Linked DNA regions of Homo sapiens: regions 1 and 3 are each linked to region 2. Evidence: promoter capture Hi-C in 16 types of primary human blood cells and fetal thymus (Javierre and others, 2016). All regions are on one chromosome and are shown on one strand. The core of a region is centred on a gene start or on the middle of the fragment in contact, and the rest is flanking DNA. Distances in the headings are between cores, read along the strand shown. Region 1 overlaps ARHGEF10 (Rho guanine nucleotide exchange factor 10). Region 2 holds the start of MYOM2 (myomesin 2). Region 3 overlaps ARHGEF10 (Rho guanine nucleotide exchange factor 10).

Region 1 (4,795 bases), core at 953-3,452, 140 kb after region 2:
TGGGCAGTGCTGCCTACACTCTGTCAATATCAAGTAACACACCAACATTTCCAACACTGAATTTTAGAACAGTCATTCAAGCAGCAGAAGTCCTATGACTATCGACTGAGAATGAGAATTTCTGACTTAGCTTCTCGATATAATTTAGAAGTGACAAACCAAGAGAACCGGAAGAAACAAACACTGAGAGTGAATTTGAAGCCATTTGATGAAAACTCTGAGGGAGGTATTACAGGCAGCCCCATGGAGATGTGGTTCATGGATGTACCTGGGTTTTGTCAGCATAAACGGTAAGGAGTGAGCTGAGATGAGCAGAGTGAAGGGACGTCATTCACCGGCTGCAGCGTGGCACTCATGGGATCAACATGATGGATGTGATACCACATAGACCCACTCAAGATCAATGCTAACAAGAGACTGTCGGTCCACCCTGGATGAATCCAGACGTGTCGGGATAGAAGCCCTGCCAGTCCCAGCACCAAGCACGGTGCCCACTTTCACCTTCTCTGTAAATGCAAGACAGCACCATGCTCTTACCTGACGCCGGAAAAAAGCCCCAGAGAATTCTGACTTGAGTTCTATCTTCAGACACATACAGAATTAGCACATTTTAAATAATTTGTTTTAAAAGTTTCTTTTTTAATCTAGAGGAACAAAACACTATTGATGGCAAAACAAGTTTATCATTTAAGCTCTCTGTTTAAGGCATTGGGCAAAAAGATGTCCCATGGAAAAATGGTTTCACTGAGGTTAACTAGGTGCTTTTCCATAGAGACGTGATAAAAAAAAAATCAATGCAGGTATGCAAAACACAATCATATACGTTTTCAAGTGTGTTTCAAAGTCCCCTTAACTGGAGATATAACACCAAAGACCTCCTTGAATTCAGAATAAAGAAAAACATTTACTCTCCAATGTGGCATATTTCTTTTTAATAGACAATGAGAACTTGTCCATACTCAGTGTTTCTCCTCTTGCTGTGGCTGATAGGAAGCTCATAGTTAAATCCAGGGTGCAAATGCAATGATAAACTCACTCCAGGTTATTTCCTCCACATAGTATTTTAAAAATGGGTTGAATCACCCTGCTTTATGCTTTTTTCACATTGCTAACTGAATCAATCTAAGTTAGCTCAGCATAAATCATAAATAATAAGATGAATAAGAAAATATAACATTGCATGGAATACATACTATTTTATGGATCAAAGTCACCTTTAGCTATTTAAATACAATAAGGCCATCTTAATTATGAATAAATTCTAAGATTGCTAGCATTATAAAATACATGAAGGTGTTTTTGTTCACAAAACCACAATATAAATTTGATTGCCAATCAATGTTTCCAAATAATTTAAAAGGATTTTTAAAAATCTTTAACAAGGCATCCAATTTGCTCTTGAATAAAATGTTAATGAATCATGTCAGAAATGATTTCTCTGTCCCCATGTCCCCTCTCCCTCGGCTCCTCCCTCTCGCTCTCCATACCACCCCCCAGAACAGCTCTTTTGGGAAATCTGGGTTTTGGTACTTCAGTTATTTGTGGAGAGGGTTTGATACAGACGCATACCACTTTAAATAGGACGAGGATTTAAGAGTCAGAAATTTAAGAGATTACAAATTGTAATAATATGCTTGACGAATTAGCCTACTAGGCAGATTACCAAACAGAATGACTATTAACATCAGGGGAATGAGAAAAATAAAAGCGGTCCCAAAGCGAATTAGACCTAATACTCCTTACATCATGTTCTGCAAATCCAGGTGAATATGCAAATTCAATCAGAAAAGGTTAAACGTTCTCACGTGGTTTCCTTGCTTCTGAACATGTCAGAAACAAAATAATCTGAAAAATTCATGCATATTTAACCTATGAAAGGTTAACTGAAAGTTCCCATGCATCGTGTTTTTTAAATTGTTCTACAATTCAGGGGTAGAGCCCAAAAAGTGAATAAAACTTAGCCAGTCGTTCTTTGGATTTTTTTTTTAATAATGAAGAGAAGGTAATGATTTTTACACTAAGATTAAAATCTGCAGTCTGAACAATGTTAGGTAATAATAATCATAAATCATGTGCAATGCTAAGACATTGCCAAAGCATTCTGACTCCTCTCCTTTCACCTTGGGAAGTTCATGGACAAGCACTGCCTCCATGGGGAAACTGAGTAAAGACATCACAACGCTGCCCAGCAGTGTGAGCAGGTGAGCAAAGAGCCGAGCTGGAACCACCACCGCCTCAAGCTCTATGACTTCCTGCACGCCAGCTCCACACACTCAAGAGACCAGCACTGCCAAGTCCTGATTTGGTTAACTGGAAACGCAAAACTGAGCTCACTGGACCGGGAAGACGGAATCCACTTCTGACTGGCCAGGTGCACGGCCCGAACCCGAAGGAGCCCCAGCTGCACGTGGGACAAGTCAGTGATGAGCAGCCGACTTGGCCATGTTAGTCAGACAGCATACAGATTCTAGAGACTGGATCACCTCTGCAGACTTGCCATGTTAAACCCTGAACCTGCTGATGGTGGAGCTTACGCTGGCCCCACAGCTAGCATGAACGTGAGAGTTACCCTGGCCCCACGGCACGAACGTGAGAGAAAGCATCACTTACTTGGTTTCGCGTTAGCAACCACGGCCAGGCTCTCCGGCGGGTGAACGGCAAGGTGCCTGCTGTGCTCGCCCGTGCCTGCGCTGCTGCCATACTCGATGGCGTCCACATGTCCCAGTGGAACGCTCCACTTCAGCAAGTACCTCTGGCTGCTCATCACACGGCTGTCATGAGAGGGGCTGAAACGACCAAAAGATCCTTGTTTTACGAATAATTACATGAACACGTTATGGTAATGTTCATCCCTCAGATGTTCAAGTGAGAAACTTCCCACTGCTGAATTGTAACTCTTCAGACTTTCTCACAATAGTAATTGTGCTTCTGACTTTCTTACTGAGTCCCCACTTGCTGCCATAAAGAGGCCTCGAACTGGATGAGAGAGAGTGCAGGGAAGAGCCGCACAGGGGACGGATCTCCCGGAAGCTCCGAGGTTTTCCATAAAGGCTTAACAGGAAGCAGCTCGGTGCTTGCTGATGACTCTGAGCAAAGGTGCTCGATTACCAGGAAAAGTCTCCTATGTGGATAGAGATATTCTCTGGCGGTTTCATAAGAGTTAACTCTCAAATTGCTGCTTTATTCTTTTATGGCTACACTGTAACCACTTTAATAGAATCAAATCATACCATTACACTCCATGACTAAAATATTTATCAAGTATACGGAAATTGAACCGAAAAAAAACCCTATGACTTATACAGATTATTTTCTTCTTTTATCATAAATAGAACATATACGTGAAGAAACACAAAACACATATGTACAGTCTAGTGGAAACGACCTGCGCCAACATCTGTGTAGCGGACTCCAAGGCCAAGGCTGTGACATCGCCAGCATCCCCGCAGCCCCAGGAAATCCCACCCTCCAGAATCAACCATTATTCTCACTTAGTGATCATCACGTTTTGCTTTTCTTCAAGATATTGCCGTTAAAAATCAAAGTGTGGGCCGGGCGCGGTGGCTCACGCCTGTAATCCCAGCACTTTGGGAGGCCAAGGCAGGCAGATCACAAGGTCAGGAGATTGAGACCATCCTGGCTAACACAGTGACACCCCATCTCTACTAAAAATATTTAAAAAATTAGCTGGGTGTGGTGGTGGGTGCCTGTAGTCCCAGCTACTAGGGAGGCTGAGGCAGGAGAATGGCGTGAACCCGGGAGGCAGAGCTTGCAGCGAGCTGAGATCGAGCCACAGCACTCCAGCCTGGGTGACAGAGCGAGACTCTTTCTCAAAAAAAAAAAAAAAAAAAAATCAAAGTGTGGGTAGAAATAACCAAAATGCCGGGTGCTATGCATTGGACTGAGCACCTGACTGGCTGGGAGCCCGTCTGCACCCAAGCTCTCCAGTTCCTTCTTACACCAGAGCACTCTGCCCTCCATGAGGACATCCAGTCCATACAGGAAGGGAAAGGAGGAAGAACAATTCAGACACAGTAAGAGGAAAGATGGGTTGTGTTCCGTGAATTAGACTGTGCCTCCAATTTAGAAAAACAGAAATGCCCATGAGTTCTTACCAAAATTCCGATTCCTCCTCTTTGAATGTAAAAATCTCCATCCCTACAGAGGAGGTTTAGAATCTTAATGTTCACAGGGCCGACCAAAGGGTCCTTGGGAGCTATTTGAAACAAAATGCATTCTCATCTCATCACCTTCGGGCACTGTCGCTGAAAATCTCACACTGACAACATGTCCATGGGAAAGGAATTGCGACTCACCACTGCACTTCGCAAAAAAAGAAATTCAAGCCCTGGCATCGTGGGAAAGGCAGGGGCGTTATTTTAAGGAATCCTCTAGCAGTAAGCACAGCTGAGTTACTTTTAAAGTATCCATTTTAATTCATCTTTAAAGTACACCACGTCTGGCAGCGGGAGAATTTTAAACGTACTTAAAACTGCCCAAGAGTCAAGTGTGTCCTGGCGCTCCCCAACAGCAGCCTGAGGGGTTCTGGAGCAGCAGTCAGTGTCAGACAAACATCAGTGATGAATGCGGAAAAGACTCAACAAGGACCATTATATTTGCTTAGGACTTTGCCGTTTACAAGGTCATTTCACTTCTATGATCTTGTCTCCCAGGGCAGGTGGAACAAGCATTAATGTCCCCAACTTGACACATCGTGTGGGCCAACTTGCAGGTGAGGAGCTGGGTGGATTCAGCCACAGTGGGGCCACTTCACTGAAAACTAACTTTCCAGGTG
Region 2 (4,976 bases), core at 541-3,040:
ATAGAAAGCTGTTTTCCTTTTTAAGGAACTATCTCAGACATGTGTTAAATACCCCCTACACACACCAACCAAAAAAAAAAAAAAGAAAAAAGAAAGAGAGAGAGAAAGAAAGCAGCTTTTCCTCGCAGGGTAGTTTTTGATGTGAGTCCCTGGGGCTCAGGCGCATTGGGAGGCTGAGACTCCAGTGGGGACCTGCTGACCTTCAGCTCAGGGGCCTCCACCTGCTCTGCTGTAAAACAGGGGGCTGAGTGAGGTGGCAGCTAACAGTCCCCCAGCTTGGACAGCCTGTGTGTAGATAATCCTGGCGCCACGCTGTACTGTTAGCACAGACCGTCCCCAGGGAAATATGACTTGCCCGGGTCACCGGTAGGGCCACGGCCGAACCCAGGCGCCAGCTGACTCTCCTGACAGCGTCCAGCCCACTTTCCACCACAGCCCAGCTCCCCGGCCACTCCCGGAATGCTCCTGACACGTTTAGGAATCATGACACCAGGATGAAACGCGAGCCTCTCCTCCAGTGCAGGGGACCACGTGTCTGATATCCCCATCCTAATTCCTTCCTGCAAACAACGTGTGGAGCCCATTCCTCATGTCACCAGGATGGGTTTTAATTTGCAAAAATGTTTGAAGTACAAAACATTGACTTCCACTTAATGAAGGAAATTGTTTGTACAGTTAAAAATGTCAAAGTCAATAAATACACCAAATTAAAGCTTTCTAGAGGGGAAAGGGACTCCCAGACACGCAGCGTTGGCCTGTGCCACAAGTGGCTAAGCCCTTGGCTCCCAAGACAAGTTTTAGCTTGGGACTTGGTTTATTAAATAACGCCTTAAATTATCTTTGTTCCACGCTTTCTTTGAGTCCTGTTTTACTTCTACTTAGTAAGAAAGGAATGTGAAATGGAGAATTAGAAAAGGCCAGGTGTTCCCAGTGATGGCAAACCCCTTCCTTCCGTTTGCCTCCGGTGCCTTCCACGTGCAACCACCCAGCCCCACTGTCTTTCTCCAGCAGGTTGCATTTCAAGAGCACGCCCTGAGAAGGCACAGCCTCTATCAGCGGAGTGGAGCTGAAGAAGTCTGAAGGGTCACAACACACCCAACAGCACAAAGAAGAAAACAGCCGTAAGAACGCTGTCATTTTTGGGCAAAAACTTGCAAGTCCTGACAAGGATTGTTCTCTTTCCCATACCGTGGATAATATAGGCTAGGTCTAAGCTGAATGACCCTCGACTCTTTTTTCCCTTAAGAAAATATCCAGTTTTATTATTTCACACCTTTATAAGTCAGCCCTCTCCTCGGGGGAGGCTTTCGTTTCTGAGAATCTCATGAAACTTGCAGACATCAGTCCACTGACTGGGGGGCCCCCTGGGGCCACGATGAGACCAGGGCTAAAACCCAAAGCACACGCCGCAGGGTGCTAAACGGCACTTAGCAAAGACCACGGCTGTGGGAAATAAAATGTTAGTTGAGCATAAAACCTCGTCAAAGAAATACAGATCCCAGAACTAATTGCTCTGTTTTCCACAGTAAAGGGTGCCTGCGACGGGGTGCACTGGCTCTCTCTTCTTGACCCTGAAGTAGAGGTACTTAGAAAATGTGAGTGCAGAAGTTACCGGTCCTCCCCTTAAAGCCACAAATTAGAAAAGGCAAGAAGAGAAAGACACTTACCCAGACAGAAAGGAAAATTGCAAGGAGGAGAGAGAATTCCTGACCACCGGCTCACCAAGCCACCCACACTCCAGCCGAGGAAGGCAGAGCTGACTCCTGCAAAGCAAGCGCCTGTGCCTCCCTCCCGTTTAAGGTCTGAGGAGCTACTATATATAGACGCCTGGGCCTGCCTCTCCCCACATCAATACCCACATCGTAAATCACCAGCCTGACCTCAGGAGGAAAAGCTTCTTGTTCAAACTGAGGGCGGGGGAAATCACGATTCAAAACTGGAACGTGTCCTTTCTGAGTCCCAAACTGCACTTTTCCCAGGAAACCGGGTGTGACACTTCAGCCCCCGACCCAGAAAGAGAGGGCAGGGCACTGACTTCCCACGCTCCCTCCCCGCAACTCTCCTCCATGAGTTCTAATCCTTACGTGTGAATTCTCAGACATATCTTCAATCCTTTCGAGCTACAGGTTCCCTGGCTCACAAATTGCAACTCCTGAATGAGTCTTTAATAATGACATGGATTTCAGTGAGCATTTGTGCCATTCGCAGGCCTGGACACCCGAGTTGAGGTCGGCTGTGGAGGGAGGGAGGTGCACAAGCCCCTGGGTTTGTGAGCGTGTGTGTGCATGTTCGTGTGTTTGTTCGTTTTTTTTTTTTTATTTCAAGAACGACTCAGGTCTTCACTCGATTGTATCTTAGGGCTATTTTAGCAAGAACTGCCTACCCAAAAGAGGAGCGGTGCCTAGTCGGCAAGTCGGGGCTTATTTATAGCCATTACCACAGACGTACACTGCGTCTACACCACACGGATAATTGCAGGGTGCCCGTCGTTTCGCACAGCGTGTGTCCAAATATAGATAACACACACCTGGCACGGTCCTGGGCTGCAGCCTGGCCAAGAGGCGGGGCCTCAAGGGGATGCCCCCATCTGAGGACCCGGAGAATCACACTCCAGCTGCACCTCACCACAGGGGCTGAGGACTTCGGCCAGCTGCTCAGCCCACGGGGGCTATGCTCCCCAGCTCTAAAACGCATGGAATAACAACTTTCCTGTAAGTTTGTTGTGACAAGTAGAGAAAATATGATAAGAGAATTGCCTTAAGAAACTCCACGTTCTCACACTGGGGTATCAGAGGCACAGCCAAGGACCAGCGAGCAGGTGGATGGAGGCGAAGATCAGATACGAGAAAGACGCGAGCACAGCCTCTTGCTGGGCCCCAGAGCGTTCTGGATGCTGGATCAGGAGGCGAGTGTTTCTGTCTTCTTCCCCTTCGTATTCTGATGGCCTAGCATTTAATTTAATTAGTGTTTGTTGAGTGATTTCTTAGTCTATTCAGGCTGCTTTAGCAAAACACCATAGACCGTGTAGCTTATAAAACACAGGAGCTTCTTTCCCACAGTTCTGGGGACTGGAAGTCCAAGATCCAGGTACCAGCAGACACTGCCTGGGGAGAGCCTTCTGGTTCTGGGACGGCGCGGTCCCTGAGTCCTCACCAAGTCAAGGGGCCAGGCCGCTCTTGGGGCCTCTGTATGAGGATACTGATCCCACTCGGGAGGTTCCACCTCCATGACCTTGTCACTTCCCTAAGGCCCCACCTCCTCACACCATCGTTTTGGGGGTTAGGGTTTTAACCCACATATTTTGGGGGGGTTGCAAACAGCAAGACCAGAGCAAGCAATGTTTACTTCCGGTTTATCAGCATCTCCTTCTCTAGCGAATCCATTTCTCAGGGACCTGGGGGACTTCCCTTCAGCCCTTCTGCCCCCCTGCCTCTGAGTGTGGCCGACACTGGAGGGGCAGTGATGGTGCCTCGTCCCCTCAGGTGGCATCTCAGTCCTCTGAGTCCCAGTCCTGGCATCTCAGTCGCCTGGGTCCCAGTCCTAGCATCTCAGGAGGGGACAATCTCATCCCGGGGAGGGGCCTCTCCTGAGAGAAGGAAGGGCCAGCACACTCCTCCTCCTTTTCTGACATTTCACGGTGGCTGTGCCCTCCTTCTGTGATATAGAAATCCAGTGCTGCGTCTAAGAAAGCCTGGATCTTTCAGCCACACCACCCAGAGAGCAGAGTGTGACCCGGGACACAGATAGGCTCCTGATGGGGACAGAGCTTCGCCTTCTGCTGGGGACAGGAGACCCCTCCCCACCCTCCTCGTAGACCCCCATCTCCCTGAGCCATGCCTGCCCCTGCCCACCCGGGATGTAGCTTCCAAAACTCCCTGGGTGAGGTGCACCTGCAGGAAGCCTGGAGCCAAGAAGGGACAAAAGACGGAGGGAGGCGGTGGGACCAGGCATGGGCCCCGCATTCTCCACCAGACACACCAGCTCTGGGGCAGACAGGCTCCTTCTTGCCGGAGTTCCTTGGGCTGACTTTCTATCATCGGCCATCAAGAGAATCCTGACTAAGACAAAGGAAGAGTCCAGCAATCTCATTTCCACAGCTCAAATTGGCAGCCTGTGAATGGAAAACAGTTGGCCTCACTGAGGATTTCCCACAACATAGAAAAGAAGATCGAAATGCAAAGAGTGACATTCTAAAACCACGTGCCTTCAATCCTGTGGAACCCCAGGCCAGACCATTCATGGGTGAAGTTATGTTCTATACAGCAACAATCCCCAACTGTTTTGGCAACAAGGACCGGTTTCGTGGAAGACAATTTTTCCAAGAACGGTGGAGAGGGGGATAGTTTTGGGATGAAACTGCTCCACCTCGGATCATCAGGCATAAGATTCTCATAAGGAGCGTCCAGCCTAGATCCCTCGCGTGTGCAGGTCACAGTAGGGTTTGTATTCCTGTGAGAATCTAAGGCCGCGGCTCTGAGAGGAGCTGGAGCTCCGGCGAGAATACTCAGTGGCCGCCATTCACCGCGCCATGCGGCCCAGCTCCTCACCGGCCACGGACCCCGAGGCTGGGGTTCAGGACCCCTGTTATATTGCACAGAGCCAAAACTGACATTCGATTCAGGAAAATCAGTTTGGATATTTGAAAGAAATAAAATTATTCTTAAGATATTTTGTTCACTTCCATGCATTCCGTCTCAGAAAACAAATTTTCTGTTTTTTAGAAATTATTTTAGAAATTATCCATGTATTTTAGAAATTATCCATCCCATGTATTTTAGAAATTATCCATCCAACAGGCCAAATATTCAGTTTTATGATTCAAAGGATGACAGCTCACCAGAAAGAGGCTTCGCAGTTGCAGCCACAGCACAGGGAGGGGCAGGGGGTCACCCTCCGTGCTCTCCCAAACCAGGGGGTGATGAGGCCAACAACAAAGGCGTCTGGTCCCCACAGAGCACGTGTGCACAGGCCGCAGA
Region 3 (4,842 bases), core at 1-2,500, 150 kb after region 2:
CCTCCAAAATCCTCTTAAGAGCATCTACGTAGTTCTTTTCACTGTCGACAACTGAACCCAGTATATATCTTCTTACAACCTGTTGGAAATTTGGAAGTACAATGATAGAAAACTGCTTTATAATACACACAGATACATTTTACTTCTATGCTGAGGCTTGCTGATAAGTAACTTTTCTATTTTTAGAAAACAGTGCACAAGGGTAGCCTAATTAAATAACATTACAGGTACAAAACATACTTCGCCCCATTAATACAATTATATAATGTCTTAAACCTCAAACTATGAACTATAACTACAGCTGGGACAAAAAAAATTACAGCACTGAAAAGAAATTCCTTCATTTATGCAACGATAATATACTGAATTAACAGATTGTATTTTATGTATCCAACATTCAGGTAGATGATACTTCCTATGAATTCAGGATAAAAAATAGTTCCAGTCTTGATCAATGAATGTTATTAGCAACACTTATCTAAAATATTTATTCCAAAGTTCTAAGAAAACAAAGTTTGTGGAATGTGGAGGAATCTTTTTTTTTTTTTTTTTTTTGCAAAGATCTTTCAACCATCCAAAGATCTACCTATGAGGCCAAGAATGTGGACAGTAAATTATTCATGTCACTTAGAGGTGCAAAAAAAAAATCTCTACAATCTGACATGTTTGCAATCAAAACCTGACGTTATTTTCCATCTTGCTTTTCATCACTGAAGCACATACAATAGACTTGTGGCTGTAAGATCCCGTGAAAGGCCTATGAGGACGCCCGGCATTTCCCTCATTCTAAACACAGTCCAGCTAGTGATCATTGTACTTCCAATTTGCCAATTCATGGAAAACAGAGCAAAACAGGGCAATAGAGTTTCTCCTAAACCAGCATGCGCACTCCCGCATATGAACACACGCCCGGGCACACCACACCACACACACTCCTGTACACACCCACCCCATATATGTGCAAGATAACACACACGTGCGCGCACGGAAGCACACCACACACACACATGCACACACACGGGTACTCCAGTGTAGCATCAGGCTACCTGCAGCCCTGGATTATGCTATTTGAAGGGACTGCGTTGCCACCTAGCGGGCAAAGAGCATTTTTCACAACGGAAATTTCTCTGGTTAAAAAGATTGCAGGGCAACCAAGATTTACAAAACCTGATTAACAATGGAGAGATTACTCCTTTTAGAGAAAGGATTATTCTATTCGCAAAAGACAAAAATCAACCCTTCTAAAATACCCAAAGAAGAAACTGATGTATTAAAAAAATACTAATGTATTTAAAAAATACAGGTATCGCTGGGATTAAACACACACACACACACACACACACACACACACACACACACACACACACACAGAGCCAGAAGCTGGGAAGCTGCAGCTGCTGCTACTGACTGATTCACAGGAAACGTCAGAGCACAGAGGCTTCCCTTTCAAACGAGAGCTTAGAACCCAAAGGCCAAGCAACCCCTCCCATCATCAAACCCAGGCCAGTCTTTCTTCTGAAATTCAGATTCCCAAACACTCTCCCAAGGCTCCTGAGTCACAGTTGTGGGGGTCAAACATAAAAATGTATTTGTGTATATATACATGTAATATATATAATATGTTATATATTATACTATATATATTATTGATATGTGTACCTATATTATGTATATGTATTATTTATATGTGTATATATATTATGTATGTATATTTTTTAAAGTCCTGAGATGATACTAATATAGTATCAGGTCAAAAGATCTGGAATAGGTATAATATTAAAATACAAAAACAAAACCAATATTCTGGGTTTCATGGCTACTGCACGTGATGTCAGTCTTTCTGGCAGCTCAATCTGACACGTCAAATTATATGCCCACTAAGGGGTGGGACAGGGAGCCTCCAGTGCTCAGGAAGAGTGTCACTCTCTTCCTGAGAAGCCTGACCTAAAGTCATAGAGGAGAAATCCATCCTGAATGCAGCCCCCACAGGGAGGGTCCCTGGCATGAAGGTCATGGGGCAACTGGACAAAGCCAGGGCTGGAGGACAATCAGAGAGGCTCCTAGGCCTGAGCTGGGAGAGCTGCGGATGGTGCCTGGGCCTGGCCCAGCCTGACCTTCCTCATGTCCTCACCGGGAATGGGGACGGGACAGGATCCTCTGTCCTCCAGCATCAAGGGTACTTTCCAAGTAAAGAACGACCCTTCTTTATTTCAAAAAGAACATTTGCCTTTTTCCACCCCCAAATTAGGCATGCAAAGAATGTTTAATATACAGCATTTTAGAGTTATGTTTCCCTTAATTCAATTCTAGAGGAGAACAAGAATTAAAGAGCATCAATACCCCCCATTTAACCACTCAAGAGAAAACTCTCATGGACAACACATTTGGCAGGAGGAAAACAAAATCGATGTGAATCATGACTACAATAAAGAAAGCTGCATGAAAGAATGCAGAAATCCTAAATACTGCTAAGTTTCTAATCGTAATCCCAGCTATCATCTCATTGAAAGTGACGGCACTGTGCTAACACAACACAGAGACCTTGCTATACAGGACTTCACTGAACCATTACGGTGGGATAAGCAAGATGGAAATAGACATTAAAATCCACCCTTCAAAGAAAAGGAAAACTGAACTTCAGAAATTAACTACTAGACAAAAGTAACTGAGATAATCAGAGCAAAAAACAGAATTTCATCCAGGTCTGTGAGACTAATTTGGGAAGCTTAAACCCTTTACAGAAACCATAAAACAATGAACAGTCACTGCCAATTCGCTGAGCAAATCCACCAAAATCAGTACCCAACAGACAGGCCCTTGGAAAAGTGCCATACAACAAAAAGGTCAAACCTCTTTCCTCTGATATGTGCACACACCCCTACCAATCACTACTCACTCTCTCTTCACAGAACCTCGACTCTTACCCAGTGACACCCCACGGACCCCGTGACCCACTCAGTGTCTCCTCACAGACCCCTCACACCCCACTTAGTGTCTCCTCACAACCCTCACTGCACTCAGTGTCTCTTCATAACCTTCGCCAAACTCAGTGTCTCCTCACAGACCCTTACACACTCAGTGACTCCTCAAAACTCTCACCCCACTCAGTGTCTCCTCAGAGACCCGTCTCGCCCCACTCAGAATCTCCTCACAACCCTCACCCCACTCAGTGTCTCCTCACAACACTCACCCCACTCACTGTCTCCTCACAACCTCAACCCATTCAGTGTCTTCTCACAACCCTCACCCAATTCAGTGTCTCCTCACAGACTCCTCACCCAACTCAGTGTATCCTCACAACTCTCACCCCACTCAGTATCTGCTCACAACCCTCACCCCATCAGTGTCTCCTCAGAACCCTCACCCCACTCAATGTCTCCTCACAATCCACAACCCTCAGTGCCTCCTCACAAACCCTCACCCCACTCAGTGTCTCTTCACAACCCTCACCCTATTCAGTGTCTCCTCACAAACCCTCACCCCACTCAGTGTCTCCTCACAAACCCTCACCCCACTCCGTTTTCTCACAACTCACACGGCACTCGGTGACTCCTCACAGACCCCTCACACCACACTCGGTGTCTCCGCACAGACTCCTTACCCCACTCAGTGTCTCAATACCCCTCACCGCACTCAGTGTCTCCTCACAGATTGCTCACATCACTCAGTGTCTCCTCACATACCCCTCCCCCACTCAGTGTCTCCTCACAACCCTCGCCCCACTCACTGCCTCCTAACAAAGTTCACCCCATGCAGTGTCTCCTCACAAACCCTCACCACACTCAGTGTCTCCTCACAAACCTCACCCCACCTAGTGTCTTCTCACAAACCCTCCTCCCATGAAGTGTCTGCTCACAACCCTCACCCCACTCAGTGTCTCCTCACAACCCTCATCCCACTCAATGTCTCCTCGCAACCCTCACTCCACTCAGGGTCTCCTCACAAACCTTCACCCCACTGTTTCCTCACGACCCTCACCCCACTCCGAGTTTTCTCACAACTCACACCACACTCCATGACTCCTCACAGACCCCTCACCCACACTCAGTGTCTCCTCACAAACCCCTCACCCCACTCAGTGTCTCCACACAGACTCCTTACCCTACTCAGTGTCTCCTCAATACCCCTCACCCCACTCAGTGTCTCCTCACAGACCCCTCACCCCACTCAGTGTCTCCTCACAGACCCCTCACCCCACTCAGTGTCTCCTCACAGACCCCTCACCCCACTCAGTGTCTCCTCACAGATGCCTCACATCACTGTCTCCTCACATACCCCTCACCCCACTCAGTGTCTCCTCACAACTCTTACCCACTCAGTGTCTCCTAAGAAAGCTCACCCCATGCAGTATCTCCTCACAAACCCTCACCACATTCAGTGTCTCCTCACACCTCTCATCCCACTCAATGTCTCCTCACAACCCTCACCCCATTCAGTGTCTCCTAATAAACCTCACCCCACGCTCTCCTCACAACCCCCCAACTCAGCGTCTCCTCACAACCCTCACCCCACTCACAGTGTCTCCTCACAGACCCCTCACACCCCACTCAGTGTCTCCTCACGGACCCCTCACCCCAATCACTGTCTCCTCATGACCCGCACCCCACTCCATGTTTCCTCACAACTCTCACTGCACTCCGTGACTCCTTGTAGACCCCTCACACCTCAGTGTCTCCTCGCAGACCCCTCACCCCACTCAGTGTCTCGTCACAGACCCCTCACCCCACTGTCTCCTCACAACCCTCACCCAACTCAGTGTCTCCTCATAACTCTCACCCCACTCAGTGTCTCCTCACAAACCTCACCCTATTCAGTGTCTCCTCATAACTCTCACCCCACTCA

The links. The method cuts DNA at HindIII sites, captures the fragments that hold promoters and counts their contacts. A CHiCAGO score of 5 or more calls a contact.
Region 1: a fragment that was not itself captured here is called in contact with the fragment with the promoter of MYOM2 in region 2 in 1 of 17 cell types (neutrophils); the score reaches 7.3 in neutrophils.
Region 3: a fragment that was not itself captured here is called in contact with the fragment with the promoter of MYOM2 in region 2 in 14 of 17 cell types (neutrophils, monocytes, activated CD4 T cells and 11 more); the score reaches 14.3 in neutrophils.

The regions. Positions count from the first base shown.
Region 1 is chr8:1,907,286-1,912,080 of GRCh38, reverse strand. It overlaps ARHGEF10 (Rho guanine nucleotide exchange factor 10), which reads right to left. Exons shown (of 29, transcript NM_014629.4): 18 at 2,611-2,786. Among named protein-coding and RNA genes, the nearest start is that of KBTBD11-OT1, 62 kb to the left of the region's middle. RefSeq lists enhancers at 1-290, 4,606-4,795 and a silencer at 3,496-3,597. The HindIII fragment of the contact is 8,013 bases long and covers 1-4,795 here.
Region 2 is chr8:2,041,860-2,046,835 of GRCh38, reverse strand. MYOM2 (myomesin 2) reads right to left here and starts at 1,790. Exons shown (of 37, transcript NM_003970.4): 1 at 1,668-1,790. The HindIII fragment of the contact is 1,181 bases long and covers 716-1,896 here.
Region 3 is chr8:1,888,806-1,893,647 of GRCh38, reverse strand. It overlaps ARHGEF10 (Rho guanine nucleotide exchange factor 10), which reads right to left. Exons shown (of 29, transcript NM_014629.4): 12 at 2-79. Among named protein-coding and RNA genes, the nearest start is that of ARHGEF10, 67 kb to the right of the region's middle. The HindIII fragment of the contact is 2,954 bases long and covers 1-2,727 here.